Linked DNA regions of Homo sapiens: regions 1, 2 and 4 are each linked to region 3. Evidence: promoter capture Hi-C in 16 types of primary human blood cells and fetal thymus (Javierre and others, 2016). All regions are on one chromosome and are shown on one strand. Each heading gives the region's core, a stretch centred on a gene start or on the middle of the fragment in contact. The rest is flanking DNA. Distances are from core to core; before and after follow the strand shown. Region 1 overlaps SIN3A (SIN3 transcription regulator family member A). Region 2 overlaps SIN3A (SIN3 transcription regulator family member A). Region 3 holds the start of SNUPN (snurportin 1). Region 4 overlaps SIN3A (SIN3 transcription regulator family member A).

Evidence for each region. The method cuts DNA at HindIII sites, captures the fragments that hold promoters and counts their contacts. A CHiCAGO score of 5 or more calls a contact.
Region 1: a contact is called between a fragment that was not itself captured here and the fragment with the promoter of SNUPN in region 3, in 13 of 17 cell types (total CD4 T cells, erythroblasts, activated CD4 T cells and 10 more). The highest score is 11.3, in total CD4 T cells.
Region 2: a contact is called between a fragment that was not itself captured here and the fragment with the promoter of SNUPN in region 3, in 2 of 17 cell types (total CD4 T cells and naive CD8 T cells). The highest score is 5.2, in total CD4 T cells.
Region 4: a contact is called between a fragment that was not itself captured here and the fragment with the promoter of SNUPN in region 3, in 3 of 17 cell types (naive CD8 T cells, total CD4 T cells and non-activated CD4 T cells). The highest score is 6.2, in naive CD8 T cells.

What each region holds. Positions count from the first base shown.
Region 1 is chr15:75,442,732-75,449,939 of GRCh38, forward strand. The region is part of intron 1 of SIN3A (SIN3 transcription regulator family member A); the gene reads right to left. Among named protein-coding and RNA genes, the nearest start is that of SIN3A, 5.4 kb to the right of the region's middle. The HindIII fragment of the contact is 2,544 bases long and covers 3,367-5,910 here.
Region 2 is chr15:75,416,233-75,423,240 of GRCh38, forward strand. It overlaps SIN3A (SIN3 transcription regulator family member A), which reads right to left. Exons shown (of 21, transcript NM_001145358.2): 3 at 6,415-6,591. Among named protein-coding and RNA genes, the nearest start is that of SIN3A, 32 kb to the right of the region's middle. The HindIII fragment of the contact is 498 bases long and covers 5,126-5,623 here.
Region 3 is chr15:75,622,000-75,629,774 of GRCh38, forward strand. SNUPN (snurportin 1) reads right to left here and starts at 3,726. Exons shown (of 9, transcript NM_005701.4): 1 at 3,667-3,726. RefSeq lists a silencer at 3,205-3,254 and an enhancer at 3,905-4,094. The HindIII fragment of the contact is 10,585 bases long and covers 1,911-7,775 here.
Region 4 is chr15:75,391,969-75,399,694 of GRCh38, forward strand. SIN3A (SIN3 transcription regulator family member A) reads right to left here. Exons shown (of 21, transcript NM_001145358.2): 13 at 4,290-4,528; 14 at 2,712-2,895; 15 at 274-847. Among named protein-coding and RNA genes, the nearest start is that of MAN2C1, 27 kb to the left of the region's middle. The HindIII fragment of the contact is 4,847 bases long and covers 1-4,463 here.

The DNA of each region.
Region 1 (7,208 bases), core at 3,389-5,888, 180 kb before region 3:
CCAGCCTGACCAACATGGAGAAACCCCATCTTTTACTAAAAATACAAAAAATTAGCCAGGCATGGTGGTACATGCCTGTAATCCCAGCTACTTGGGAGGCTAAGGCAGGAGAATCCCTTGAACCCAGGAGGCGGAGGTTGCGGTGAGCCGAGATTGTGCCATGGCACTCTAGCCTGGGCAATAAGAGCAAAACTCTGTCTCAAAAAAAAAAAAAAAAAAAAAATCACATTCTAAACTCATCTAGGGTACAGTCACATATGTATATGGGTGGAGACAGAATCTTGCTATGTTGCCCAGCCTGGTTTTGAAGTACTGGGCTCAAGTGATCCTCCCATCTCAGCCTCCCGAGATGCTAGGATTACAGGTGCACGCCACCATGCCTGGCTGAAGACTCTTATTTTACAACTTGGTTTATATAACTTTACCGTCATCCTAACAGTCTAGAGTACTACTGTCACACAGCATTCATCTACTAGTTCCTCTGAAATGTCTTCTGTAGTCAGTTTTCTTCTCTTTGCCATTATAGGAGGAAGATGAAAAACTATGGATTTTTAAATATGTCCAATGAAAGCTTAAAAGTTGAAAAATAGTATAAAAATTACCATGTACTCCTTCACCTAGATTCTCCAAATGTTAACATCTTACATAATGTTTAAGATGGTATCTCCCAACTTCTTTTATACTTTCTTGAAAGATGCTGTAGGCTGGGCATGCTGGCTCATGCCTGGAATCCCAGCACTTTGGGAGGCTAAGGTGGGTGGATTGTTTGAGCCCAGGAGTTCGAGACTAGCCTAGACAACATGGCGAAACGTTCTCTCTACAAAAAAAATACAAAAATTAGCCAGGTGTGGTGGCACATGCCTGTAGTCCCAGCTACTTGGAGGGCTGAGGTGAGATTGCTTGAGTCTGGGAGGCGAAGGTTGCAGTGAACTGAGATTGCGCCACTGCACTCCAGCCTGGGTGACAGAGTGAGACCCTGTATCCAAAAAGAAAAAAAAAGTTGCTGTAAGTTTTGGGAAAAGCAATAAGAAAACTGAAGGGCTGCGGTGCACACCTATAGTCCCAGCTACCGAGGATGCTTAGGAGGGATGATCACTTGAGCCCAGAAGTTTGAGGCTGCAGAGAGCTATGATCATACCACTGCCCTTCGGCCTGGGCAACAAAGCGAGGCCCCATCTCTAAAAACTGAAGTGTAAAACTAATGATTTATTTCACTACTGCATATCCTTTTAAGCAATTCTATAATTCTCCCTTTGTCATATTATTTTAGTCCTCTTTAGCATATTTGAGAATTGATGAGTAATGATGAAATAATTCCTAGGATGATGAAATACCAAAACATTTCAATATACAGGAAAAATAAGATCAGTAAAACTCCACAACATTGTTTCGATGTACAAGTGGTAATAGCTAAAATGAGTTTATTCCTTTGGAAAAAAAATAAATTTTCAGGCTGGGCATGGTGACTCATGCCTGTAATCGCAGCACTTCGAGAGATAAGAAGTTTGAGGCCAGCCTGGCCAATATGGTGAAACCCCATTTCTACTAAAAATACAAAAATTAGCTGGGTATGGTGGTACACACCTGTAATCCCAGCTACTCGGGAGGTTGAGGCAGGAGAACCAGTTGAACCCAGGAGGCGGAGGTTGCAGTGAGCCAAGATCGCGCTACTGCACTCCAGCCTGGGGATGGAACAAGACCGCATCTCAAAAATAAAATTAAAAATAAAAATAAATTTTCTCTTTGCTGTTTTGAAGACCTCCAATAAATAAAAGTCATGAAATATACATCTTTACAAGTAGTTAGTACTGCTTTAAAAAAAAAAAGCAAAACTCAAAAACTAAAATTGAGTCCAGACCAGGTGCAGTGGCTCAGGCCTGTAATCCCAGCACTTTGGGAGGCCGAGGTGGGCAGACTGCTTGAGCCCAGGAGTTTGAGACCAATCTGGGCAATACAGACTTCGGTGACACTGATGTTACCCAGACATTTCTTACTACTGTAGGTAGAAAATGAACAGAAATTTAGTTAAATTCAAAATGTATTAATAATTGTTATCAATGTTGATTTTCTGATTTGATCACTGTATTGTGGTTTTAAAAGATGCACTTGGGGAATCTAGGTGAAGATTATAGGGCTATTATTTGTATTATTTTTGCAACTCTCTTTGAAGTCTAAAATTATTTCCAAAGAAAAAGTTTTTTAAAAATTAAGTATTAGGCCAGGCATGGTGGCTAACACCTGTAATCTCAGCACTTTGGGTGTCTGAGGCAGGTGGATTGCTTGAGTCCAGGAAGACCAGCCTGAGCAACATGGTAAGACCCTATCTCTATTTAATATAAGAAATATAATCTTTCAAAATATCTATAAGGCCAGGTGCAGTGGCTCATGCCTGTAATCCCAGCACTTCGGGAGGCCAAGGCAGGTGGATTGCCTGAGGCCAGGAGTTCAAGACAAGGCTGGTCAACGTGGTAAAACCCTGTCTCTACTAAAAATACAAAAAATTAGCCAGGCATGGTGGTGGCGCCTGTGATCCCAGCTACTCAGGAGGCTGAGACAGGAGAACTGCTTGAACCTGGGAAGGGGAGATTGCAGTGAGCTGAGATCGCGCTACTGTACTCCAGCCTGGGCGACAGAGCGAGACACTGTCTCAAAAAAAAAAAAAAAAAAAAAAAAATTAGCCAGGCATGGTGGTGGGTGCCTGTAATCCCAGCTACTCGGGAGGCTAAGGCAGAAGAATCACTTGAACCCAGGAGGTGGAGGTTGCAGTGAGCTGAGATTGTGCCAAGCCGAGATTGCACCACTGCACTCCAGCCTGGGAGACAGAGCAAAACTCCGTCTCAAAATAAATAAATAAATAAATAAATAGCTGGGTGTAGTGGCGCATGCCTGTAATCCCAGCTGCTCGGGAGGCTGAGGCAGGAGAATCACTTGAAGCTGGGTGTGTGTATGTGTGTGTGTGCAATGAGCCGAGATAGTACCACTGCACTCTAGCCTGGGCAACACAGTGAGACCTTGTCTCAAAAAAAAGAAAAAAAAAAAAAAAAAAGAAAGAAAGAAAAGAAAATAGAGCATTACAAAGAATAGAACTTGAGATAGTTCTTGAAAGGACAGGTGGAAGTGTCACTCACATCTCACACTGCTTTTATCACATTAGCTCTTCTGCTCCCACACAAACATGGGCACATAACATCTTTAACCATCTATGTATCCTCTACCATGCTCAGCATACTGCTTTGTCTTGTCTGTGGTGGAAACCAAATCATTCATTCATGTATACATTCTCTAATATCTACTGAGCACATACTATGCACCAGGTGTTTTAGGAGCTGGAGATACAACGGTAAACAAAAATCTCTTCCCTCAAGAAGCTTATATTTTAGTGAAAGATGACACAATAGACAAAGTATAATATTTAGAATAGTAGGCAGTGACAGGTATCAAGAACAAAAGGCAAGGAAGAGTTTTTGAAATTGTAGATAAGAATGGTCAGATAATACCTACTGATAAGGTAACTTCTGAGTAAAGGAAGTGAGGGAGCTAGTCATGCAGAAATTAGTGGAGGAAGCCTTCTAGGCAGAGGGGACAGCAACCGCAAAGACCCTCATGTCTTTGTGAGGGCTCACATGTGCTTGACATGTTCCAAAACAGCATGAAGGCTGGGTAGCTGAAGAAAAACGAAAGAAGGACTAGTCAGAAATGTAGTCAGAGAGGTACTAGGATAAGGGTGGCAGGCAGAGGGTACATCAGATTTGTTCTTACAGGTGTTTTTTTATTTTTTGACACAGGGTCTCATTTTGTCGTCAAGGCTGGGGTGCAGTGGCACAGTCATGGCTCACTGCAGCCTCAAGCTCCTGAGCTCAAGCAATCCTCCTGCCTCAGCCTCTCAAGTAACTGGGACTACAGGCACGCGCCAGCATGCTTGGCTAATTTTTAATTTTTTTATAGAGACAGGGTCTTGTTATGATGCCCAAGCTGGTCTCAAACTCCTGGACTCAAACGATCCTCCCACTTGAGCTCCCAAAATGGTGAAATTACAGACATATCCTTTTTTTTTTCTTTTGAGACAGTCTCGCTCTGTCGCCCAGGCTAGAGTGCAGTGGCACGATCTTGGCTCACTGCAAGCTCCACCTCCCGGGTTCACACCATTCTCCTGCCTCAACCTCCCGAGTAGCTGGGACTACAGGTGCGTGTGCCACCATGCCCGGCTAACTCTTTTGTATTTTTTTTAGTGGAGACCATGTTAGCCAGGATGGTCTCAATCTCCTGACCTCGTGATCCGCCTGCCTCAGCCTCCCAAAGTGCTGGTATTACAGGCATGGGCCACCGCGCCCAGCTCATTACAGACATATCTAAATAAGGACTCAGGTTTAATACTCAGACTGAAATGGAAAGCCACTGGATGGTTTTAAGCAGAGAAGTGACACGGTATGACTTAGGTTTCAAAAGAATCACTTGGGTTGCTATGTTGAGAACACATTTAAGAGCCGCAGTAACAAAACAAGGAGAATAGAATCCAAGCTAGAGATGCACAGGCACTGACTAGGGCAGTGGAGATGCAGATCCTAAGTGGTCTAATTCTGGATAGTATTTTGAATATAAAGCAGTAAAATTTACTGATGGACCACATATGAAAAAGACACAGAAGAGTCAACAATGTCTCTTAGTTATCCAAGAGGAGACATCGAGTGGAGACCTTGAGTGGGCCACTAAACATATTAGTCTATGGTAGAGGGAGAGATCCCCGTTAGAGTCATCAGCATTGTTTGGATTTTAGAAAGGTAATATGGTACATATACTGTATCATCTCTCTCTCCCAGCTAGGGCTGAGTAGCTCCCCATAATCAAGCAGTCACATTTCTGCATCATGCAGGATAGCCCAGGTCAGGCTGTACCCCAAAACTAGTTGTGGAACTAGACTTACCAAAAAACAAAAACTCTTGCATTTCAGAACTGCAAATAAAGGATGTGGACCTGCATATCCTCCAATAGCCCATATGTCAGCAAGCCTAGCCCTGGAGGACACCAAGAAGACTCATGAAGGGTCCACTGTCATGCTGAGAAATATGGGTAACATACAAGCATACAAGACAAAAAGTGGGTAGGGAAAACAAAAGCAAAAGGGGCAAATAAGAAATACATCAGGTAGAAATTGCCACCCATGACCGGGCACGGTGACTCACGTCTTAATCCTAGCACTTTTGAGAGGCTGAGGCAGAAGGACCTCTTGAGCCCAGGAGTTCGAGACCAGCCTGGGCAACACAGCAGGACTTCACCTCTATAAAAATATAAAAAAAATTAGCCAGGTGCGTGGTGGCACACACCTGTAGTCCCAGCTACATGGGAGGCTAAGGTAGGAGGGTCGCTTAAGTCCAGAAGATCAACACTGCAGTGAGCTGTGATCATGCCACTGCACTCCAGCCTGGTGACAGAGCGAGACTTCGTCTAAAAAAAAAAAAAAAAAGACATGAGAAAAAAAGACATTATGCGGCCGGGTGCAGTGGATCATGCCTGTAATCCCAGTACTTTGGGAGGCTGAGGCGGGCGGATCACGAGGTCAGGAGTCTGCGACCAACCTGATCAACATGGTGAAACCCTGCCTCTACCAAAAGTACAAAACTTAGCCAGGCGTGTGGTGGCGCCCCAGCTTCTTCTTCGTGGAGGCTGAGGCAGGACAATCGCTAGAACCCGGGAGGCGGAAGTTGCAGTGAGCTGAGATTGCACCACTGCACTCCAGCCTGGGAGACAGAGCAGGACTCCATCTCAAAAAAAAAAAAAAGTCTAGTGCCTAACACAGTATCTGTGACACAGTAAGTGCTCAATAAATATCAGCTTTTATTTTTCAAGGGGCGAGGAAGGTGTATTTTGAAAAAGCATATACTATTTATTTTTTTAAAGGCCTACAGAAAGTAAAGCTTAACAAACTCTTGGCTGGTGGATTGCCCAGAAAAGAGAGAAAGCCATGAAAAGCACTATGCTAAACTACTGAATGCCAGGGATATAACCTCTTAATTCCAGTTAAAATTCCCAGGTACTAACATCTGCCATGCACAGCTCTCCAGTGTCTTGTCTGCTCCCACTGAAGATGTAAAAAGAATTATACTTCACCAGGAATCTTGTCAAATTACTACACACCTCCTTCCTTAAAAAAGAAAAAAAGTCTTTCTCTGTATGTAAATTATTAAAACCCTCTTAATTACGAAGTGCCAATCTTTCTAAGCTATTTATCTCTGAACAAAATTATAGTATATAAAATAATTATCTGGAGATTATGAAGCATTTATGAAAATGTTCCTAATACAGCAAAACCAGGTTCTTACTTGAATCCTTATAGACTCTTCTGTGTTCCCCAGTATACAGCACTGCAAATCATGGGAACTATATATGTAGCCCAAATTTTCCTCAATGGTCAATCGTTCTCCACTATCTCTCTCAGTTTATGGCATCAGAAAAAACCACCTGGATTTTTTGTCTCCCCACCAATTCTATTACAGCCATCATTTGCTAAACTAAAATGCTATTGCTTTTGCAACTTCCTTAGCAGAGAAGGTAGGACCCACCTACCCTTTTCACATAAATATAGCACAGGGTACCACTCAGGCCCTACTAACCAAAGCACAAATCTAGAATTTCACTTCAGATAATTAACCAGAGGCTCATTTAGACATTACTGCATAAATAAACATTGGTTCCATGTTTATTTTTCTCATGAAAAATGTGAAAAACATTGAAATAATTTCTCTCAATAGGAAAAGATAATGTATCAAGTGAAAGCAAAAACCTCATCTAATGTGGTTCTGCTATCTAAATCTGAAATGCCCTAAGGCAACTCTCCAATACAGGCTGGAGGGCAACGCTACAGAAGTCACATACAGAAGGCTACCCTGATCCACAATTCCACCCTCCTCTGAAATAAAAAGGGCAACAACACTGTACTATGTAGAGTATAAATAGAAAGTGGTCTAGATGGTCTAACATAAGTACATAAAATAAAAAAGAAAAGACTTTTCACCTATAGTTACCTAAATAGCAAATTCTTTAGGAAACCAAGTTTTTTTGGTTGTTTTTTGAGGCGGAGTTTTGCTCCTGTCGCCCAGGCTACAGTGCAATGGCACCATCTCGGCTCACTGCACCCTCGCCTCCCGGGTTCAAGTGATTCTCCTGCCTCAGCCTCCCCAGTAGCTGGGATTACAGGCGCTTGCCACCACGCC
Region 2 (7,008 bases), core at 4,125-6,624, 200 kb before region 3:
TGTCTTTGAAGCTGGACTGACGTGGGGAAAACACCTTTCCCTTCTAGTTTTGAGAGACTTCCTCTTGGCTTATAGAAGAAATTCCCTGACTTTATTTACTTATTTATTTAGAGACAGAGTTTTGCTATTGTTGCCCAGGCTGGAGTGCAGTGGTGCGATCTTGGCTCACTGTAACCTCTGCCTCCGGGGTTCAAGCGATTCTCTTGCCTCAGCCTCCTGAGTAGCTGGGGTTACAGGCACCCGCCAGCATGCCTGGCTAATTTTTGTATTTTTAGTACAGACAGGATTTCACCACATTGGCCAGGCTGGTCTCAAACTCCTGACCACAAGTGATCTGCCAGCCTCAGCCTCCCAAAGTCCTGGGATTACAGGCGTGAGCCACCACACCCAGCCTAGATTCCCTGACTTTTAACACACATGGCCACCTTGGCACAAACACCTTGTGGGATGGAAAAACAAATTCATTTTTACATCCTGTTCTCCCTCCCCACCTTCACAGACCTAACTCCCTTTTACCCAGACACCTGTTGGGACCTAACCCCCAATAACTGGTTACCAATATGTCAGGCAGTCAAACTTTCCAGTGATGCCACTGAAATGGCAGCCCTCAAAAGAGCAGTGGTTGCTTTTTCTAGACTGTGGATCTTCAGATAAGTCCTGCCATTTTCATTTCACTTCCTGAAAGTCAGGGTTGGCTTGTGAAAAGTTGTTAAACAACATGCTAAATGTGAAGTGTCAACCTTCACTCTAAACTTTCCCTGTTCAGAGCATCAAATGAGACTTCACTGGGTTTTATAGTGGCTTTTTTTTTTTTGGTAGCTCATTGTTAAGGATTGTCCATGTTCTGCCTGAAATACCATGACTGTTTTTGGAAAGTATCTTTAAAGCTGGATACAGTTTGGCTGGGGGAGAAAAAAAACTGACCTATCACAAAGAAGAACAGGTTGGAAAGGCTAAGCTATGAGTCTGATTTAGGACAGAGACACCCAAAAGAAATCCCCACTAGGTGTTTCCTATTTACTCTGAGATACGTTAAGTTTTATTTTGGTAGTTTAACTGAAGCCTAAATATTTAAAATTATACAAAATATCAGGTTTAAGAAATTTCAGAAATAAACATTTGATGTGATTTAAGCCAGTCTTTTTCTTTTTTTTTTTTTTGAGATGGGAGTCTCATTTTGTCTCCCAGGCTAGAGTGCAATGGCGCAATCTCGGGTCACTGCAACTTCTGCCTCCTGGGTTCAAGTGATATCTCCTGCCTCAGCCTCCTGAGTAGCTGGGATTCCAGGCGCATGTCACCACATCCAACTAATTTTTTTGTATTTTTAGTAGAGATGGGATTTCACCATGTTGGCCAGGCTGGTCTTGAACTCCTGACCTCAACTGATCCGCCTGCCTCAGCCTCCCAATGTGCTGGGATTACAGATGTGAGCCACCACACCTGGCCAGGCATAGATAGTCTTTTGATTTGTTGCAAAATGGAACATTTACATTCAAGTCAATCATTAACTGGTGCTGTGGTCTGAAATGTGTCCCACAAAATTCTTACATCGAAACTTAATCACCGATATGATGATATTAAGAAGTGAGGCCTTCAGAAAGTGATTGTGGAGCCCTCATGAATGGGATTAGGGACCTTATAAAAGGGCTGGAGTGAACCAGTGTTAGTCCCTTCGGCCCTTCTCCCTTCCAGTGTAAGGACACACATTCAGGGACCATCTCGAAAAACAGAGTTCAGGCCCTCACCAGACACCAAACCAACTGGCACCTGGATTTTATTTTATTATTTATTTTATTTATTATTATTATTATTTTTTTAGATGAAGTCTTGCTCTTGTCTCCCAGGCTGGAGTGCAAAGGCACGATCTCAGCTCAATACAACCTCCGCCTCCCGGGTTCAAGCGATTCTCCTGCCTCAGCCTCTTGAGTAACTGGGATTATAGGCGCCTGCCACCACGCCCAGCTAATTTTTGTATTTTTAGTAGAGATGGGGTGTCACCATGTTGGCCAGGCTGGTCTCAATCTCCTGACCTCGTGATCCGCCCGCCTCGGCCTCCCAACGTGCTGGGATTACAGGCGTAAGCCACTGCGTCTGGCCTATTTATTTATTTTGAGACATGGTCTCACTCTGTCACCCAGGCTGGAGTGCAGTGGCACAAATTCGGCTCACTGCAACTTCCACCTCCTGAGTTCAAGCGATTCTCGTGCCTCAGCCTCCAGAGTAACTGGGATTACAGGTGCATGCCATCATGCCTGGCTCATTTTTTTGTATCTTCGGTAGTTTTACCATGTTGGCCAGGCTGGTCTTGAACTCCTGACTTCAAATGATCTGCCCTCCTCAGCCTCCCAAAGTGCTGGGATTATAGGCGTGAGCCACCGCACCCGGCCAGCACCTTGATTTTAGATTTCCCAGCCCCCAGAACTTCTCCAGAACTGTGAGAAATAAACTGCTATTATTTAGATTATACAGTCTCAGGTATTTTGTTATAGCAGCACTAATGGATTGAGACAAATGGCCGCTTTTTTGTTTTTGTTTTTTTTGAGACAGAGTCTCGCTCTATCGCCCAGGCTGGAGTGCAGTGGCGCTTTCCCGGCTCACCGCAAGCTCTGCCTCCCGGGTTCACGCCATTCTCCTGCCTCAGCCTCCCAAGTAGCTGGGACTACAGGCGCCCGCCACCACGGCCGGCTAATTTTTTTTTCTATTTTTAGTAGAGACGGGATTTCACTGTGTTAGCCAGGATGGTCTCGATCTCCTGACCTCGTGATCTGCCCGCCTCGGCCTCTTAAAGTGCTAGGATTACAGGCGTGAGCCACCGCACCCGGCCCCGAGACAAATGGCTGTTTAAGAGTTCTTCAGACTTCCATTACGGCCATGGTTAATCAGTGTTTCGGTGTTGCTAGAAATCAGATTGTATAGTTGGTCAATACCCACTTGTTTGATGGTTAGTTTTTCTATACAAATATCATGACAATTTCTGTTGAAATTCAATGGACTATTTTAATTCATATTCTGAACTTTCCATACTAAAATGTTTCATTAATGACCAACTTAAGTGAACACAAAATATATTAAGTTTGCAAAAGGAACCAAGACTTTGGAAGATATTTAAGAATAGCATGCATCATTACACAACAAAAGAACAGTTATCAATAAGACATGGTATGGTATAAGGTAACTACTGCAGAGACGGAAAAAGTACAGAAACCCAAAAGAAAGCAATTATGTGTGATATGTATATGTCTGAAACAAAAAGGTACTGAAAGTCACAGCAAACCAAGCAAACCACTGTTTAAAAATTAGTTATAGGCCAGGTGTGGTGGCTCATGCCTGTAATCCTAGTACTCTGGGAGGCCAAGGAGGGTGGATCCCTTGAGGCCAGGAGTTTGAGAGCAGCCTGGCTAACATGGAAAAACCCCGTCCTAGTAAAAAAAAAAAAAAATACAAAAATTAGGCTTGGTGGTGCATGCCTGTAATCCCAGCTATTTGGGAGACTGAGGCATAAGAATCACTTGAACCCAGGCAGGGGAGGGTGCAGTGAGTTGAGATGGCGCCACTGCACTACAGCCTGGGCAGCAGAGTGAGACTCTGTCTCAAAAAAACAAAAAAGTAAAATAAAAGTTATAGAATAATCCTATGCTTTAAAAACTCTGCATGACACTCACATAATAAATAAGACACCTACATGTAAAAATAGTGAGGAAATTCTCTCATCACCTAAAGCATAGTCCAACTCTTATATAAACTCTCTATAAATGCATGTATACAGTTCTAGGTAGCACAACTTAAAAAAAAAACTTGGATGTAGTTATTTAGAAGCTACAGATTTAAGGAAGCACTTGGGGAGACCCTTAGACTCTGCTGATAAAGTTTCTTAGCTCACTTCAACAGGGATTTACTATTAAGGCCCCGAATCTCCTGAAGTCTACAATCTTGTTGGGAGAGAAAAACACAAGCAACTGTAAAGATAACCTGCTAAATATGTACCAAATATCACTGCTGCTGACATTCAATAACTAAATAACACCAAACATGCCTCAAATCGTTCAAATCCCTTCTTGTCACCACCAATCTACCAAAGACAAAAAACAAAAAAAAAAGACAATGTTGAGGCTTGAAATAATGTGTAAGCATTCTCACTGAACATTTCTTTTTTTTTGTTTGTTTTTTCTGAGACGGAGTTTCACTCTTGTCGCCCAGACTCGAGTGCAGTGGTATGATCTTGGCTTACTGCAATCTCTGCCTCCTGGGTTCCAACGATTCTCCTGCCTCAGCCTCCTGAGTAGCTGGGATTATTACAGGCATGCGCCACCATGCCTGGCTCATTTTGTATTTTTAGTAGAGGCATGGTTTCATCACATTTGTCAGGCTGGTCTTGAACTCCTGACCTCAGGTGATCCACCCACCTCGGCCTCCCAAAGTGCTGGGATTACAGGTGTAAGCCACCATGCCCGGCCTACATTATTATAGAATATAAATGATTTATTGAAGTTGATTCAAATGCTTGTAATGCATTTTAAGACTGATCCAAAAATGACAGGCAATGTGGGAATACTGAGTTAAATTACATGGAGGTACAAGAAGCATTTTACCTCTCCTCATCAGAAAGGAAATTCAACAAGTTATTTTATGCAGGAATATAGTCAAGAGCTTGTGACTAAAAGAACACAACAAGAAATCCTAACTCTATCTATGACTCACTCTATAACCCCAAATCCAAAACCTTTCCTTGTTTCCTTGCCAGTTTCCATAAAGCAAACAAAACATAATCCATATACTTATACCAAAGAGTCCTGTGAGGAAGGTGGGTAAAAACTGGTGTTGTGCTTTGATAGGGTTGATTGAAAAAGGCTATAGAAATACATATGTTTTTGTTAGTTTAATAAGCAAGTTTATAAGCTATTTTGCAACATTAAAGTATAACTACTGAATATACAGTGTTAATACAGAATTAAATCACGCACAACCAAGTTTTAAAAAAAATATTTTCAGGACTTAGTAAAGTGCTAAGCCCGCAGCAATAATACATTTTGGTACACAGCCATCACTCTACAACAGACTGAAAATGTTTTAAAGGAAACATCAATATTCCTTATACACATTTTCCCAAAGACAGAATCCAGAGTGAAGCTTCAGGCCTAAAAAACCTGTACTCTCTTTAAAAGGCTATGCATTAGTCAATACTATGTAAGCCAATATAGAGAGTAAATTTTACAAAATTACTCTAAATCACATAGCTTTGCTGTACTTTATAATATTTATGTAGCATTTAATACTCTTAGGCCAATATTAAACAAGTTCCCAAGAATCCACACCAACGAGGGCAGGGATCAAGAAGAACTAAAGTAAGTATCAGGGAAAACAGAAGAAACAACTATTTGCTGCATATGGATATGTCCTTAGAGGGTTTATTTCTCATTCGTGCCTGCAAGCAACATAAGTAGGTTGCAATAACCAAATGAAGATTTAACATCTCTTCAGAGTTCCTCCATTTATTATTTCCTGAACTTAATTTTATATAAACGTAAAATTAGAAAAATTGAAACCTGAACACTTGCTGCAACAATCACATATTTTGAAAAGTAACATTCAAGTGGTCAGAGATACAAGGTTAGCTGGGAACACAAGCTTCACTTCTCCAGGGATGCCTCATGAATTTCAAAGCACTGAAAACGTACCACACATACTCAGCAGAAAATATGAAAACACTGATAATTCATTCACAGTTACAGTTTTCCCTGAACTTTATAAAGATTCCCCCCAAAAAGGAGCATGTGTTTTACTAAGAATGGACTTGATGATGTGAGTCAATTCAGCTATTCATAAACAGGAATAAAAAGATAAAGGTAATAAGAACATTACAGGCATGAGCTGGGCATAGTGGCTCGCACCTGTAATCCCAACACTTTCGAAGGCCAAGATGGGAGAATCACTTGAGGCCAGCAGTTTGAGACCAGCCTGGGGAACACAGTGAGACTCCCATCTCTGAAACTAAAAACTAAAAAAAAAAATTTTTAAGAATTTAAAAAGATTGAACTGTAAGATATATTACTGGGCCAATTTACTGTACTAACCTGTAGCCAATCATATATGTGCTCAATAGAGAGTTCAAAAGGAAGCAGCCAAAAAATGAATTTTAAGGTTTATTTTGTATTAAAATGGCCCCACAATCCTGATAACATTTGACCGACATGCATTCATACAGTCCACAAACATTTGAGTATATTCTTCTCTGGATCAGGCACTGATGCCAAGATAGGAAACATAAGCAAATTTCACAAAACAAAAACGGTAAAACTTGTGATTCGACAGCTAGTATCTCAGGTTAGAAGTTGTACCACCACAACCAACAAGCTGCAACCAGTATTTCCTGCTAAAGATAAATTTTTTGACCCAAGAAAAAGAGCTGAATACCACCTTCAGCCTCTGAAATTGCTGCTGTCCCTGCACTGGTGCAACTGGTGGGGCTGGATGAGCATGACTCTGGACCACCTGGCCTCCGTGGGGCTGCACCGCTGTTGGGTGATGATGGCTGCTATGAACTGCTGCTATAGCGGGCCCATGACTGCCGGAGCTCTGTGGCATGGCTGAAACCTGGGGTGAACAAAATACAGACAGGAAACTTCAAGGCTTGTACATTCTTCCCCAAATGAGTCTAAATAACTAACACAAATGCACAAAGATAATTAATTGGAAACCCAAATTTCTGCTGGGCGTGATGGCTCACACCTATCTCACCTACATAGGAAGATCGCCTGAACTCAGGAGTTCAAGGCTGCAGTGAGCTATGATCATGCCACTGCATTCCAGCTTGGGCCACAGAGTGAGACCACGTCTCTAAAAAGAGAAAAGAAAGCCTGGGCAACATAGTGACACCCATCTCCACAAAAAATAAAAACTTGGCCAGGCATGGCAACATGCACCTGTGGTCCCACCTACTCCAGAGGCTAAAGGAGGAGGATTGCTTGAGTCCAGGAGTTCAAGGCTGCAGTGAGCTGTGATCACACCACT
Region 3 (7,775 bases), core at 2,476-4,975:
CACTCCAGCCTGGGCGACACAGCAAGACTTCATCTCAAAAAACAAACAAACAAACAAACAAAAAAACAAACTCTAGCGACCTGGGATTACAGGTGGCTCATGCCTGTAATCCCAGCACTTTGGGAGGCCAAGGCAGGAGGATCACTTGAGGCCAGTAGTTCAAGACCAACCTGGACAATGTAGTGAGACTATGTCTCTACTTTTTAAATAAAAAAGTAAAAAATTATTTTAAATTATAATTTATTTTTTAAAAAATCTGATTGTTACTTCCTCATATTCTAGTTGTGTTTTGTTTTTGGGTGGGCAGAAAGAAGGTTTCAGGGCTACTTATGTGGGACTCACTTGGAAAAGAGCTAGGATGTGGAAGGCTGCTTAACAAGTAACGTCAATGCTCCAGTAGTGTGAAGAACTTCCATAAAGTACATTAGGGAAACAAGACAGGCATGGAGTAGATGTCATTTTGAAAACAGACTTCCCACTTTAGGTGGACCCTAAAGAATGGGAGTGGGGAGAAAGGTGAATTCACACTTCATTCAAGCGCCTGTGAGCCTTAGATTATAAGAAAACAGGAACATTTGGGAGAAATCTGACTTGCACTGCTGGGCTGGCCCAGCCCTTTGGTTCTAGTGTAAACCAGAGGGCACCTCCAGTGCTTAACCTCCATCCCAGGCCAGGTCCAGTGCTCTGAGCATCAAAATCAACAGGTTCATTCCAGAGCCTCTACAGTGAAAAATACAACTCCATAGGCCTCTACTTGGCCAGTGAGTTACTTTCCATTGCACAAGTGAAGTCAGATATTTTTCTTGATTTGAAACATTAGATTTTGTTTAATTTAAAAGGAACTTAAAAATCGTGGTTTGCCAGGTGCAGTTGTGCTTGCCTTTAGTCCCAGCTACTCTGGAGGCTGAGGCAGGAGGTATGCTTGAGCCCAGGAGTTCGAAGCCAGCCTGGGCAATATAGCAAGACCTTGTCTGTAAAAAGAAAAAAAAATTGTGGCTAAATACACATATCATGAAATTCATCATCTTAACCATTTGTAGGTGTACAGTTCTGTAAAGTTAAGTATGTTCAACACTGCTGTGCAGAACTCTCCAGAACTCCTTTTATCTTGAATAACTGAACCTCTGTAACCTTTAAACATAAAAGAAACTTTTTTTTTTTTGAGACAGAGTTTCACTCTTGTTGCCCAGGCTGGAGCACAATGGCACGATCTTGGCTCACCACAACCTCCGCCTCCCAGGTTCAAGTGATTCTCCTGCCTCAGCCTCCCGCGTAGCTGGGATTACAGGCGCCCGCCACCACGCCCGGCTAATTTTGTTTTTGTATTTTTTAGTAGAGACGGGGTTTCACCGTGTTAGCCAGGATGGTCTCGATCTCCCGACCTCCTGATCTGCCCACCTTGGCCTCCCAAAGTGCTGGGATTACAGGTGTGAGCCACCACGCCCGGCCTTTTTTTTTTTTTTGAGACAGGGTCTCACTTTGTCTCCCAGGCTGGACTACAGTGGTGTGATCTCGGCTCACTGCAGCCTCCACCTCCTGGGTTCAAGTAACTCTCCTGCCTCAGCCTCCTGAGTAGCTGGGATTATAGACATGCACCACCATGCTCGGCTAATTTTTGTATTTTTAGTAGAGAAGAGGTTTCATTATGTTGGCGTGGCTGGTCTGAAACTCCTGACCTGAAGTGATCTGCCTGCCTCAGCCTCCCAAAGTGCTGGAATTACAAGCATGAGCCACTGCACCCGGCTTGAGGTGTGCCTTAATATCTTTGCAATGCAACCAAGGGTTGCCATTCCTGAGTGACTGAGGCCTCATGATGAGTGCTTGGGATCCATATGGTATGTTATTCAAATCATCCATAATGGTATGTATGCTATTGTCTCTACTTTTCTGTACTTTTGTGTAAGTTTGAAAGCTTTCATGATAAAATTTTTTTTTTTTTTTTTTTTGAGACGGAGTCTCGCTCTGTCGCCCAGGCTGGAGTGCAGTGGCGGGATCTCGGCTCACTGCAAGCTCCGCCTCCCGGGTTCACGCCATTCTCCTGCCTCAGCCTCCCAAGTAGCTGGGACTACAGGCGCCCGCCACTACGCCCGGCTAATTTTTTGTATTTTCAGTAGAGACGGGGTTTCACCGTTTTAGCCGGGATGGTCTCGATCTCCTGACCTCGTGATCCGCCCGCCTCGGCCTCCCAAAGTGCTGGGATTACAGGCGTGAGCCACCGCGCCCGGCCGATAAAAATTTTTAAAAAGTCATTATGTTTTCAGTTCATCACCAAAGTAATGACCAAATCCAAAGCACCTTTATTAGGCCTATCATGCACTATCTTGGTGTGGGCTCCCGCTCTGCCAAGAACCACACAACCTTTGAAACTGATGTCCTGGGCCTGGCGCGGTGGCTCACGCCTGTAATCCCAGCACTTTGGGAGGTTGAAGCGGGCAGATCACCTGAGGTTAGGAGATCGAGACCATCCTGGCTAACACAGTGAAACCCCGTCTCTACTAAAAAAAAAAAAAAAAATACAAAAAAATTAGCCAGGCATGGTGACGGGCGCCTGTAGTCCCAGATGCTCGGGAGGCTGAGGCAGGAGAATGGCTTGAACCCGTAAGGCGGAGCTTGCAGTGAGTCGAGATCGTGCCACTGCACTCCAGCCTGGACTTCGTCTCAAAAAGAAAAAAAAAAGAAAAACTGATGTCCTGGATACTGGGGCGGTTCCTTTACCTTCCTTCAAGGCTGTTCTTGGCGGGTTCCTGCTGTTTCGTTTTGTTTTTTCTTTGTTGTTGTTGTTTTTTTTTTGAGACAGAGTTTCGCTCTTGTTGCCCAGGCTGGAGTGCAGTGGCATGATCTCGGCTCACTGCAACCTCCATCTCCCGGATTCAAGCGATTCTCCTGCCTCAGCCTCCCGAGTAGCTGGGATTACAGGCACGCGCCACAACGCCCGGCTAATTTTTTTTGTATTTTTAGTACAGATGGGGTTTCACCATGTTGGTCAGGCTGGTCTCAAACTCCTGACCTCAGGTGATCCGCCCACCTCGGCCTCCCAAAGTGCTGGGATTACAGGCGTGAGCCACTGCGCCCCGCCGGGCTCCTGCTGTTTCAACCCATTCCTTGGATGGTGCTGCCTCCAAGTGTTCGGACCTTAGCCCCAGGTGGTCTTAGCACCAGTAACCCCCGCTCCAACTCCCTAAAGTCCGACCCGCCCCAGGCCCCGCCCACGCTCCACCCTCCCTCCCTGTCTAGCCCCCTCCCCCATCCCCTTCCCCCTCCTTCGCGTCTCCCCATCCGGCGCCCCCGCCTCGCGTCCCCTGGGTCCGCATCCTGGCAGCCTCCGCGTTTCCCTACCCCTGCTACCGGGCTCCAGCCCCGGGGACGCTATCTGCTTCACTCGGCCGTGCGCGCCGCCACCGCCCCGCACTGCCTTTTTCTAGGCATGGGGTCATCTAGGCCATGCATGATTCGCCCCTGCCCCACAGAAGTCCCTGAGGGGTCCTGGCCGGACAGCACGGAATAGAAGAACGGAAACTCTCCCAAAAGGAGTCCCAGGCCTGGCTCTATCCCTCCAGATGACGTCCCAGGAGGCCAGAGTGCAGGGCCGGCCAGAGGGAGTCACAGTCCGGCACCGAGAGGCAACTCGGCAGCTGGCGGGGCCCGGGCTCGAACCCAGGGACTCACCCAAACCGAGGTGACCGTCGCACGCGCCGCCGCCACCGGGGCCGACGAATCACCTGCCCTGGGAAGCTAGGTCCGCCCTCCCCCCGCCCCCAGCTGCTGCCTCACCGCTGGGCCCACAGGCCTCGCGCCCTGAGTTTCCGGCTCCTCCCTCCTTTGCGAACGCTGGGAGTTCCGTTGCCTACAGGCCGTTATTTCCGCCTTCAACGGCTGGGGCATTTCCCATCGGCTAGGGAGGGGGTCTTCTTGCATTTGCTTTGCACTGTCCGGGACTCTTCCTGCTAGATGACTTGACCAGGCCGAGGCCTCCCTCCTGAACACAAGCTCTTCGGGGCTCCTTTCGCCAATGGGAGGAGGCTGATCTTGTGGCCGGGCATTCAACGCCCTGGGCCCTGCCGCCTCCCGCAGATCTTCCCGGGCCTTAGGGCTTCACCTGGAGTCCCCTTCCCCTCTTGGGCCCGTGCTCTTAAACGGGCAGTGCCAATTGCCTGGATTACTCCAACTAACCCCTCACACCCAAGTTTCAGACACAGACCTTCGCTCCCCCACTTGCCCTTAACAAAAGCAGATACATACCTCGATTACTGCCTGTTTGCTGCTTTTGCGAGCTTCTTTCCCACTCGGCTGCGGGCTGAGCAATGGTAGGGACCTGGCTTGATTCCTATTTAAGTAGCCAGAGTCCAGCACAAGGGATGGCGCTCAGTAGACCCTGCGTGAAGGAATGATTAAATTGGTGCAAAAGACTAGGGTAAGCGGCAGAGATTTAGGAGATTAAGTCCTGCCAGGGTGTAGCCTCTGCAGGGCGGGAAGGCTGAGATTACAATTTTAAAACTGAATATTTATTGAATGCTTACATTCAGCCAATCCCTGCTTCACACCCATCATCTCATTTAATTTTTTTCCTTTTTTTTCTTTTTTAAGCCAGTAGATATTAACTCTTAATCATGACATGAGGAAGTAGACACACTGAAGCTCAGAGAGGTTAAGTAATTTGGCCAAAGTAACACAGCTTTCAAGGAAAATGTTTGAATTTGCTGAAAGTTTGATGTATAGGGAAGTTGACTACCGATGTATGACAGAAGCAAAGTATCCACCTTTGGCACATTTTGCGTCCACGGAATGCTAAAATTTGGACTTGTGTATTTTATGCACATTACACCATACATTCAGACTAAAAAGAATAGGAAATTAGGCTGATGAAAGGCTATTACTAGACTGGTAAAAAGGGTTCTGGGGCCCTGGAAGGCCAATTTTTCTGGACGTGAGATTTTTTTTTATTTTTTTGAGATGGAGTCTCGCTCTGTCGCCCAGGCTCTGGAGTGCAGTGGCGCAATCTCCGCTCACTGCAAGCTCCGCCTCCCGGGTTCACGCCATTCTCCTGCCTCAGCCTACTGAGTAGCTGGGACTACAGGCGCCTGCCACCATGCCCGGCTAATTTTTTTGTATTTTTAGTAGAGACGGGGTTTCACTGTGTTAGCCAGGATGGTCTCGATCTCCTGACCTCATGATCTGCCCGCCTCGGCCTCCCAAAGTGCTGGGATTAAAGGCGTGAGCCACCGCACCCGGCCTGGACCTGAGATTTTATTTAGGTGGCTCTTTCAGTGGCCAGGCTGAGCAAAGCTGTCCACTAGGGTATTTATTTGGTGCATCCACAAATAAAAGCTCATGTCTGCCTGATTTATGAGACTGACAAAAAAGAGAAGTCCAGGGCCTGACTTCACTAGGGAATTTTGACACCCAGGATATTAGGTATTTTGTGTCCAAACAACCATCCCTTACAACCACGGAGGTCACATCTAATGGTCGGGCTGCATAGAAAAGAATAAAGACCTTAAACATTTTAGGAAAATAGACTGAGACTGAGAAAGAAGTTCCCAAATTCATGCCTGGAGGTCCAGGAGAAATGTTCTAGTTCCTCACTCACACCTAGCTGAATAACTTCCCATATCACTGAAAAAACAAAACAAAACCAGGTCAGGCACTGTGGCTCATGCCTGTAATCCCACCACTTTGAGAGGCCAAGGTGGAAGTAGCCCATGAGTTTGAGACCAGCCTGGGCAACATGACAAAAACCCATCTCCACAAAAAAAAAATTAGCTAGGTGTAGTGGTATGAGTCATGATCCCAACTACTTGGAAGGCTGAGGTGGGAGGATCACTTGAGCCCAGGAAGTCATGGCTGCAGTGAGCTGTGATCCTGCCACTGCACTCAGCCTGGAGACTCTGTCTCAAAACAAACAAAAACCAGAGCACCTGGCCCAGGGGTTCATTTAGAGCCAGTGGGTGTTTCAGAAGGGGCTACCTCTGGAATCTCAGCTTCAGAATGTTGGCCACATGCACACACTGTGCTTTATGTCTTTAAATCAATTAATTTAAGAAAAAAGCCTGACTACATTTATTTAAAAGGGCAACATTGGCCAGGTGTGGTGGCTCATGCCTGTAATCCTAGCACTTTGGGAGGCCAAGGCGGGCAGATCACAAGGTCAAGAGATCCAGACCATCCTGGCCAACATGGTGAAACCCCATCTCTACTAAAAATACAAAAATTATCTGGGCATGGTGGCGCATGCCTGTAGTCCCAGCTGCTCGGGAGGCTGAGGCAGGAGAATCACTTGAACCTGGGAGGCGGAGGTTGCAGTGAGCCGAGATCGCGCTACTGCACTCCAGCCTGGTGTCAGAGCAAGACTCTGTCTCAAAAAAAAAAAAAAAAAGGGCAACATCATAGCATTACCTTACATCAATCACTTCCCACTTTATTAGAAGGTATCTATAAAATAAATACATTGCTCATGCCTATAATCCTAGCACTTTGGGAGGCTGAGGCAGACAGATCACCTGAGGTCAGGAGTTCGAGACCAGCCTGACCAACATGGAGAAACCCTGTCTCTACTAAAAATACAAAATTAGCTGGGCATGGTGGTGCATGCCTGTAATCCCAGCTACTCGGGAGGCTGAGGCAAGAGAATTGCTTGAACCCAGGAAGCGGTGGTTGCAGTGAGCCGAGATCGCGCCATTGCACTCCAGCCTGGGCAACAAGAGCGAAACTCCATCTCAAAAATAAGTAAATAAATAAATACGTGAAAATAATGTTATAGGCTGGTGCAAAAGTAATTGCAGTTTTTGGCCGGGCGCAGTGACTCACGCCTGTAATCCCAGCACTTTGGGAGGCCGAGGCGGGCAAATCACCTGAGGTCGGGAGTTTGAGACCAGCCTGACCAACATGGAGAAACCCCGTCTCTACTAAAAATATAAAATTAGCCGGGCGTGGTGGCACATGCCTGTAATCTCAGGTACTCAGGAGGCTGAGGCAGGAGAATCGCTTGAACCCAGGAGGCAGAGGTTGTGGTGAGCCAAGATGGCGCCATTGCACTCTAGCCTGGGCAACAAGAGTGAAACTACTTCTCAAAAAAAAAAAAAAAGTAATTGCAGTTTTTGCCATTAAAATTAATGGCACCAACCTAATATAATCTTGCTAGATAGATATGGATGTCTGCAGAAAGCTGTAAGTCTGGGGACTTTGTAAAAATCAGAGATTAGCAAGTGTTGAAGTGATAAGGAGTCACACTAACAGAATTTTTCTTTGACGTAATCAGAAAAATTCAAAGAGGACAGAAGAGGGAAGAACCACTTTCTCACTCTATTATTCAATGTCATTAAAGTGGAATCTGTGTACCCCTTAAAATCTTCTGGTTGCCCATGGGCAGGAGAATCCTTACTTAGAAAAGAGAAGGTTGAGAGCAGGAAGGTGTCCAGCCCAGAGGGGAAATGGAGGGAGGTAAGATCACAGAGGCTGCTGGGACACAGGGGCAGGTAAGGGCCTCAGGCCACGGTGGGGAGTTTGGATTTTACCTCCACTGCTGAAGAGGGTTTATTTTTTTGGGGGGTGCGTGGGGGTTGTTTTTGTTTTTGAGACATATCTTGCTCTGTCGCCCAGGCCGGAGTGCAGTGGTGCGATCTCTGCTCACTCCAACCTCCGTCTCCCAGGTTCAAGCAATCCTGCCTCAGCCTCCCAAGTAGCTGGGATTACAGGCATGCGCCACCATGCCTGGCTAATTTTTATATTTTTAGTAGACACGGGGTTTCACCATGTTGGCCAGGCTGGTCTCGAATTCC
Region 4 (7,726 bases), core at 790-3,289, 230 kb before region 3:
AGAAATTAACTGTGATACCCCCTTCCCAGGTGCGTCCACAGTACCAACCACTGACCAAGTGTCCATGATCTAAGCCCTGCATAGGATACTTTGCACAAAGCAACACCACAAGCAACTAGAGCCTCCATTTTTCAGATAAACAGGTTCAGAGAGTTTAACTACACAGACTCTAATGCCTGTGCTCTATTAATAAAAGAAGCAGTCCCAAGTCTAGGTGGCTCTAAGGTCCTCAACCTCACACATCCTCTGTAAATCAGAGGTCTCGGCACTCACTAGGTTCTTTGAGACGTAGCTGAATGGCAGGGCTGTCACTCTTGTCTCGCTTTATGCCCAGCACTTCCCGTTCCCATTCTCTCTCTCGGTTTTCTTCTTCAATTTGCCGTTCGGCTTGGGAACAAATCCGTAGCAGCCTCAGGCAGAGAATCTGGTGCAGTCGCATAAAAATATACCAGTTGTTGTTGACATAGAAGAGGTTGTATACTTCATCCATTCCTCTTAATTTTTGAGCTGCTGTGTTACTAAACAGTAACTTGGACTTAGGGGGACTGCCCCCAACACCATTGTGCTTCTTAACTGCCCCTGTGGCTTCATCTACATCCATCTCTTCTTCTTCCTCTTCCTCCACATCTGAGAGATCACCTCTTTGGGCAAAGAGCAAATCTGGAATAAAATGATGCATGATTTGTTTTATCTTATATTTGTCCTCCTTCTGAATGCCTGTCTGCCTCTTCACATGGTGGATAATCAGAGCAGCAGCATCTTCCAGTATTTGTTTGTCTTCATACGCAAGTGAGAGGTGTGGGCCAACAGGTACACCAGCATTCTCCTCCGTAGCCTGCTCTTGCCTCTGATGGGACAGAGACACAAAAGTATTCTGTGAGATGTCTACAGCGACAACATGTCTACAAGACCACATCAGCCATACATCCCATTATCAACCACAGTGTCTATATTTTTCTAATCAAAAACTTAGGACCTGGGACTGGGAGCGGTGGCTCACGTCTATAATCCCAGCACTTTGGTAGGCCGAGGAGGGTGATCACTTGAGGTCAGGAGTTTGAGATCAGCCTGGCCAATATGGTGAAACCCCGCCTCTACTAAAAATAACAAAATTAGCTGAACATGGTGGTAGGTGCCTGTAATCCCAGCCCTTGGGATGCTAAGGCAAGAGAATCACTTGAACCCGTGAGGCAAAGGTTGCAGTGAGCCGAGATCGTACTACTGCACTCCAGCCTGGGCAACAGAGTGAGACTCTGTCTCAAAACAAAACTTAGGACCTGACTATAACAATAATTTTTGTCCCTCTTCCAGAAACAAATAGGTAATGACAGAGACGTGGTTTGATGTCAAAATACAGGTACCTTCTACACACTGATGACTTACAGGGAGAGTAGGACAGAATTGGAACCATCTTTCTTTCTTTTTTTTGGCAGGGTCTTGCTCTGTCACCCAGGCTGGAGTGCAGTGGAGCAATCTTGGCTCATTGTAACCTCCGTCTCCCGGGTTCAAGCCATTCTTATGCTTCAGCCTCCTGAGTAGCTGGGATTAAGAAGTGCACCACCATGCCAGGCTAATTTTGTATTTTTAGTAGAGATGAGGTTTCACCATGTCGGCCAGGCTGGTTTCGAACTTCTGGCCTCAAGTTATCTGTCCACCTCAGCCTCCCAAAGTGATGGGATTACAGGCGTGAGCCACTGTGCCCAGTGGGACTATCTTTCAAAATTCTGGATTAGTATCTATATAAAGGATATGATATGAGATCTGTGATTTACTTTACTTCTGGGGTGGGGGTATGGAGGGTGACAAAGTAACATCAGCAAAATATGGAGGATTAAGTTTATTTATTTTATTGATTTTGAGACGGAATCTTGCTCTGTCACCCAGACTGGAGTGCAGTGGCATGTTCTCAGCTCACTGCATCCTCCACCTCCCAGGTTCAAGCCATTCTCCCACCTCATTCTGCCGAGTAGCTGGGACTACAGGTGCACACCACCACGCCTGGCTAATTTTTGTATTTTTAGTAAAGACGGGGTTTCGTCATGTTGGCTGGGCTGGTCTCTAACTCCTGACCTCAGGTGATCTGCCCGCCTCAGCCTCCCAAAGTGCTGGGATTACAGGCATGAGCCACTGTGCCCGGCCTGATTAAGTTCACATAAGAGCTCATTTTACTATTTTTAAAGTTCAGGATCACCCCACTCCAGGAATTCCCAATTGCACTGCATTTATGTTTCTATCCATCTCCTAAAACTGAGCCCACGGAAACCAGGATTTATTGCTTATTCATCTCTGATCCTAGCTCCTAGTACTATTTATAGTCCTGGTAGGCATGCTGAATAAGCAAGGATTACAAAGAGTTTGGTGGTCAATGACAAATTTTGAAGCTGTAAGTAAGGAGAGATGGGACTATATGGATACAAGGTATTATTGTTTGAAGGAAACAGGTAGTCGGAGAAGTGGAAAATGGAGGCAGGAGGTATAAGTTGAAACCAGGACAGTAAACTAGGAAACTAGTCAAACAGCTTAGGTATAAAGGTATAGTTTAGATTTAAAATGGTAGAATGAGGAATAGAAAAGGCTATGACAGCTATCAAGCAAGAATCAACAGGTCTTAGAGAGTCTCACCTGCATTTAACAAAGGTAATTTCCAGAAATCAAAGCTGTGCTAAATATAGACTAGAGTCCTCTCACAGATGCAGAAACCCCCCGCTCACCTCATCATAGATACTCTCAATCTCATTGAGTAAGCTCTTAGACCTCAGGACCTTGGTGTCATTCTGTTTAAAGTTGATCCCCTGGTGGTCCAGAGACTTCAAGTAGTATTTCTCATTTTGTTCTCGCCATACTTTGTTAAAGCCTCTCTGAGCTTCTCGCCATTCTTCCTCTTTCATCTTCAACCTAGTGAAGCGGGAAGGGATGGAAACAACACATGGGAATTCAGAGGGTTTAGAAGAAAGAAATTTGCCAGGCTTACTTTAGTTAAAGAAAGGTGCAAAGCTATATTAGGTCTCTCAAAATTACTGGCAACTTGGGATGCTATCAAACCAGTCTTGAACTCTGTTTCATGAGGGAATTACTCATCCAAGACTTACTTTGAGGAAATGATTTATCTCAAAGTCAAATAATTTACCTAGAATGGTTACTTAAAAACAGCATTCCAGGGAATATCTTTCAGGTATAAGTATTCCTTGAAAAAAAGAGTTCTTGTTTCTTTGCTATAGGACTTTGCAAAACGTTCACAATGCTAATAGAAACACAGAAGTCCAAGACAAGAGAACTTGCACAGTTATGTTCCTCTGGATACAGTCAGGAAAGTTCTGATCAGAACTGATTCTAATAACCCAGAAGAGAACAGACTAAGACAAAAAAAAGCACTAAAACTGAAGAATAACCTGTATCTCAAAAGCCAGAAGTTAAATGCTACAGGCAAGAAGAAGAAACCATCAATCTGTGCCAGCTCTTGAGGGGAAGATGAGGGAGAAGAAACCATCAATCTGTGCCAGCTCTTGAGGGGAAGATGAGGGAGGACAAATCAAATCTGGGTATTTGTGAACTGTGCAGCAAATAAGAATTAATTTTTACCAGATGATACTGAGAGAGAACCAAGCTCCTAACAAAGGATTCACAGTGTGGTCAATAATGACATGGGGCTGGGTGTGGTGTGGCTTGTGCCTGTAATGCCAGCACTTTGGGGAGGCCAAGGCAGGAGGATTGCTTGAGCCCAGGAGTTAGAGGCCAGCCTGGGAAATATAGCAAGACCTCATCTCTATTAAAAAAAATAAAATAAAAATTAGCTGGGTGTGGTGGCACATTCCTGTAGTCCCAGCTATTCGGGAGGCTGAGGTGGGAGGATCACCTGAGCCTGGGAAGTTGAGGCTGCAGTGAGCTGTGTTCACACTACTGCACTCCAGCCTGGGTGAAAGAGTGAGATCTTGTCTCAAAACAAAACAAAACAAAAACAAACAAACCACAAAGATGTTAACAACAGTTAGTCCTGAGTGTGGCAGGAACATGGGTGGTAATTATCTTCTTTTCTTTTCTGTATTTTAAAATACTCCCCCAAACATACACACAGAGCCTTCCACCATGAACTTACAAGATTTGTTCTCTAATGTTGGTTACACAGGACCCCCAAAAGAAGTTCCATTCTGCACCTGAATTCCAACAACCAGGGTTGGGGAGAAAGAGAGGTCTCATGGGACAACCAGGTTGAAAATGAGAGCCTTATTTAATGAGACACTGAACCGGTAGTGAAGTACACTAAAGCACTAAGGGCACATTTGCTCATGTACCTTTTAAGGACAATTGGAACAGCAATGGAGGGATTCTTTCTCAGACCATCAATGATGTCAGCTGCTTTATCAGCATATATCCTCTGGAGTGCTTTTCTATGGATGACTTCTGATGTGCCCCCAAGGGTGTTGTCCAAGCGAAATTTGGCTTGTTCTTCAGCAGACAAGCGGGAAAGCTTCTTCTGTATTGCTTCCAGAACCCGGATTGTTGCCAGATTGGTCTCTAAAACTACATCAAGCTGAAGAGGAAGACAAAGAAGGGTATGCTCAGGACCCAAATCAAAATAGAATAGAGTAGTGTTTAGAAGAATAAGGTAGGGAGTCAAACTCCTTGGATTTGAATCCTGGTTCTGCCCTACTAGCTACATAAGACTGTTTCTTTATCAGCAAAATAGGGATAACAGCACCTATTACTCTCACAACCCTGTGTCTGGATTAAATGATACAATCCACATAAAGTATTTAGCACAATACCTGGCACATAAGAACCACAGGATGAAGTTGGATAAATGGTAGTTATTACCACCACCGTCGCTGCTGCCGCCACCACCACCGTGTGCTTTGCTTAGGACTACTGATTTTAGACCAGAGGAACCAAACAGGAGATGACTTTACTGAAACGTTTCCCTGAACTTTCCTGAATTGCTAAGATCCATTATGAACAAACAATAACAATCAAAACAATCCCAAAAGACCGCTTTGTCTTGAGAGTTTTTTGGTTTAACTTGAAATATTTAAATATATTCAAATACTTAAATATTCAATAGCCTTGTTCCACATCCAGTAATAATAAGAGCAGTGACTATCATAACTTAAGGAGTTCACTGTTGTAGCTGCGGGTAACCATTTAAATTCTTATTGGACTCCTGGCAACCTTTGAGTCTACTTTTTCCCTAGCTTAAAATAAGGTTCTCTAAATGAGAAACAGAAAATGAAGTAAATGAGCAGTCTCAACGGTCTACAACCAACTGTTTGCAGAAGTGTTCCCTAAGTTTTCTTGTTTTGGGAATGTGGTAGTCATTTGGTCAATATTTCTGGCCCCTCTTGCTCTCCAATTATGAACAAAAAATGGACTAAACTTCCTGGCTCCCTTATGATTGGATAGGGCCATGTAACTAGTTTTGACCAATGAGTTGTTATGAGATGAGTAGAAGTAATGTTTATTACTTCTAGGCTGCAGCATTTAAAGGTGTGAGATCATTCCAAGCTCTCTTTTCCTCCTAGTGACTAGCAACATTCATAATGGCAGCAATCCCTTGGCCTGAATCCCCAAGTAATTCTGATATGCCAAATCCCCTGCTAAACATCAATGTACATGTAGAATGATTAGAAATTAAACCCATTGGTTTTACAAGTCACTCAGATGTGGGAGTTGTCTGTACTGAGGCATTACTAACCTATCTTGATTGGTAACGCACATTCCTTCAAACTAGCTCATCCCACCAAATCTTAAACACATGCACACCCCACTTCTTTCATGTTTGCCCTTGTAGTCACAAATGGGAAATGAAGTTGCCTCTCATTTGGAGGCATACCAGCTGAGAGAGGATAGGAACACTCTGTCAAAAACAAATGCCAAGCTCTGCTAAACTCATCAGTTAACCTTACTAAACGTAAGTAACAAAGAAATGCCTTCTTTAGCTTGATAACACTCCCTATGGAAGTTAACATCTGTCTTGATTTAGCTTTCTGCAAATAGGTGCAACTCCTTATAAATGCTGGGGCAAAGATGGCCAACCACCTGCCAGTGGCCAGGCAGCATGTGGTTCTCAATTAAAAACACACCAGAAACTGCTGAACCAAGTGTGAGGCGGGAAAACTGGCAAAGAGCTAAAAGAGTACCAAAACAAACAAACAAACAAACAAAAACCAGCAAGATACCTATCCACACAAGTAAGCACAGCCAGTCAATTTAATGTAACAGATACACTAAATAGGATACGTATCATTTTACATCTTTAGACAAACCAGACTTCCCTTTTTAAAAATGATAATGTAAACCAGACATATAAACACACTGAGGATTGAGCCCACTTTCAGTAGTCCCTCTCCTGATATAGGTGGTATGGGGCCTTCTACCACCTCATTTATTCACTCCACTCTTCCCTTCCTAATTACTTCAAAATAAAGCTCCTGGGACAGGCGCAGTGGCTCACACTTGTAATCCCAGCACTTTGGAAGGCCAAGACGGGTGGGTCACTTGAGGTCAGGAGTTCAAGACCAGCCTGGTCAACATGGTGAAACCCATCTCCACTAAAAATACAAAAAAAATTAGCCGGGTGTAGCGGCATACACCTGTAGTCCCAGATACTTGGGAGGCTGAGGCAGGATAATGGCTTAAACTCGTGAGGCAGAGGTTGCAGTGAGCCGAGATCACACCACTGCACTCCAGCCTGGTTGACAGAGCAATACTCTGTCTTTAAAAAGAAAGGGGTCCCTAATTTAGCCTTCTTTCAAAAGGAGCCAATCAGGCCAGGTATGGTGGCTCATGTGTGTAATCCCAGCACTTTGGGAGGCCAGGGTGGGATGATCGCTTGGACCCAAGAGTTTGAGACCAGCCTGGGTAATGTAGTAAAACACTGTTTCTATAAAAAACAAAAAATTAGCCACAGGGGGTAGGAGGCAAGGGGAGGGAGAGCATTAGGACAAATACCTAATGCATGTGGGGCTTAAAACCTAGATGATGAGTTGATAGGTGCAGCAAACCACCAAAGCACATGTATATCTATGTAACAAACCTGCACGTTCTGCACATGTATCCCAGAATTTAAAGTTTAAAAAAAAAAAAAAAAAATTTACCCAGGCATGGTAGCACATGCCTGTAGTCCCAGCCACTCGGTGGCGGGTAGGGGTGGGGGTCTGAGGTGGGAGGATCACACTTGAGTCTGGAAGGTTGAGGCTGCAATGAACTGTGATTGTGCCACTGCACTGCAGCCTGGGCAATAGAATGAGACCCTGTCTCAAAAAAACAAAACAAAACAAAGCAATCAGCTGGGCGCAGTGGCTCACACCTGTAATCCTAGCACTTTGGGAGGCCGAGACGGGTGGATCACGAGGTCAGGAGATCGAGACCATCCTGGCTAACACGGTGAAACTCCGTCTCTAATAAAAATACAAAAAATTAGCCGGACGTGTTGGCGGGCGCCTGTAGTCCCAGCTACTCGGGAGGCTGAGGCAGGAGAATGGCATGAACCTGGGAGGCAGAGCTTGCAGTGAGCCGAGATTGCGCCACTGCACTCCAGCCTGGGAGACAGAGCGAGACTCCGTCTCAAAAAAACAAAACAAAACAAACAAACAAACAAACAAAAAACAACAAAGCAATCAATACCAGAAACATGAAAGAAAAATGCCAGTTCTCAGAGCTGGTTTGCTAACCATGGCAAGATACTTGCTAAGGGTAACAATACACACAGATCTTAAATAATTTAAAAACAGCT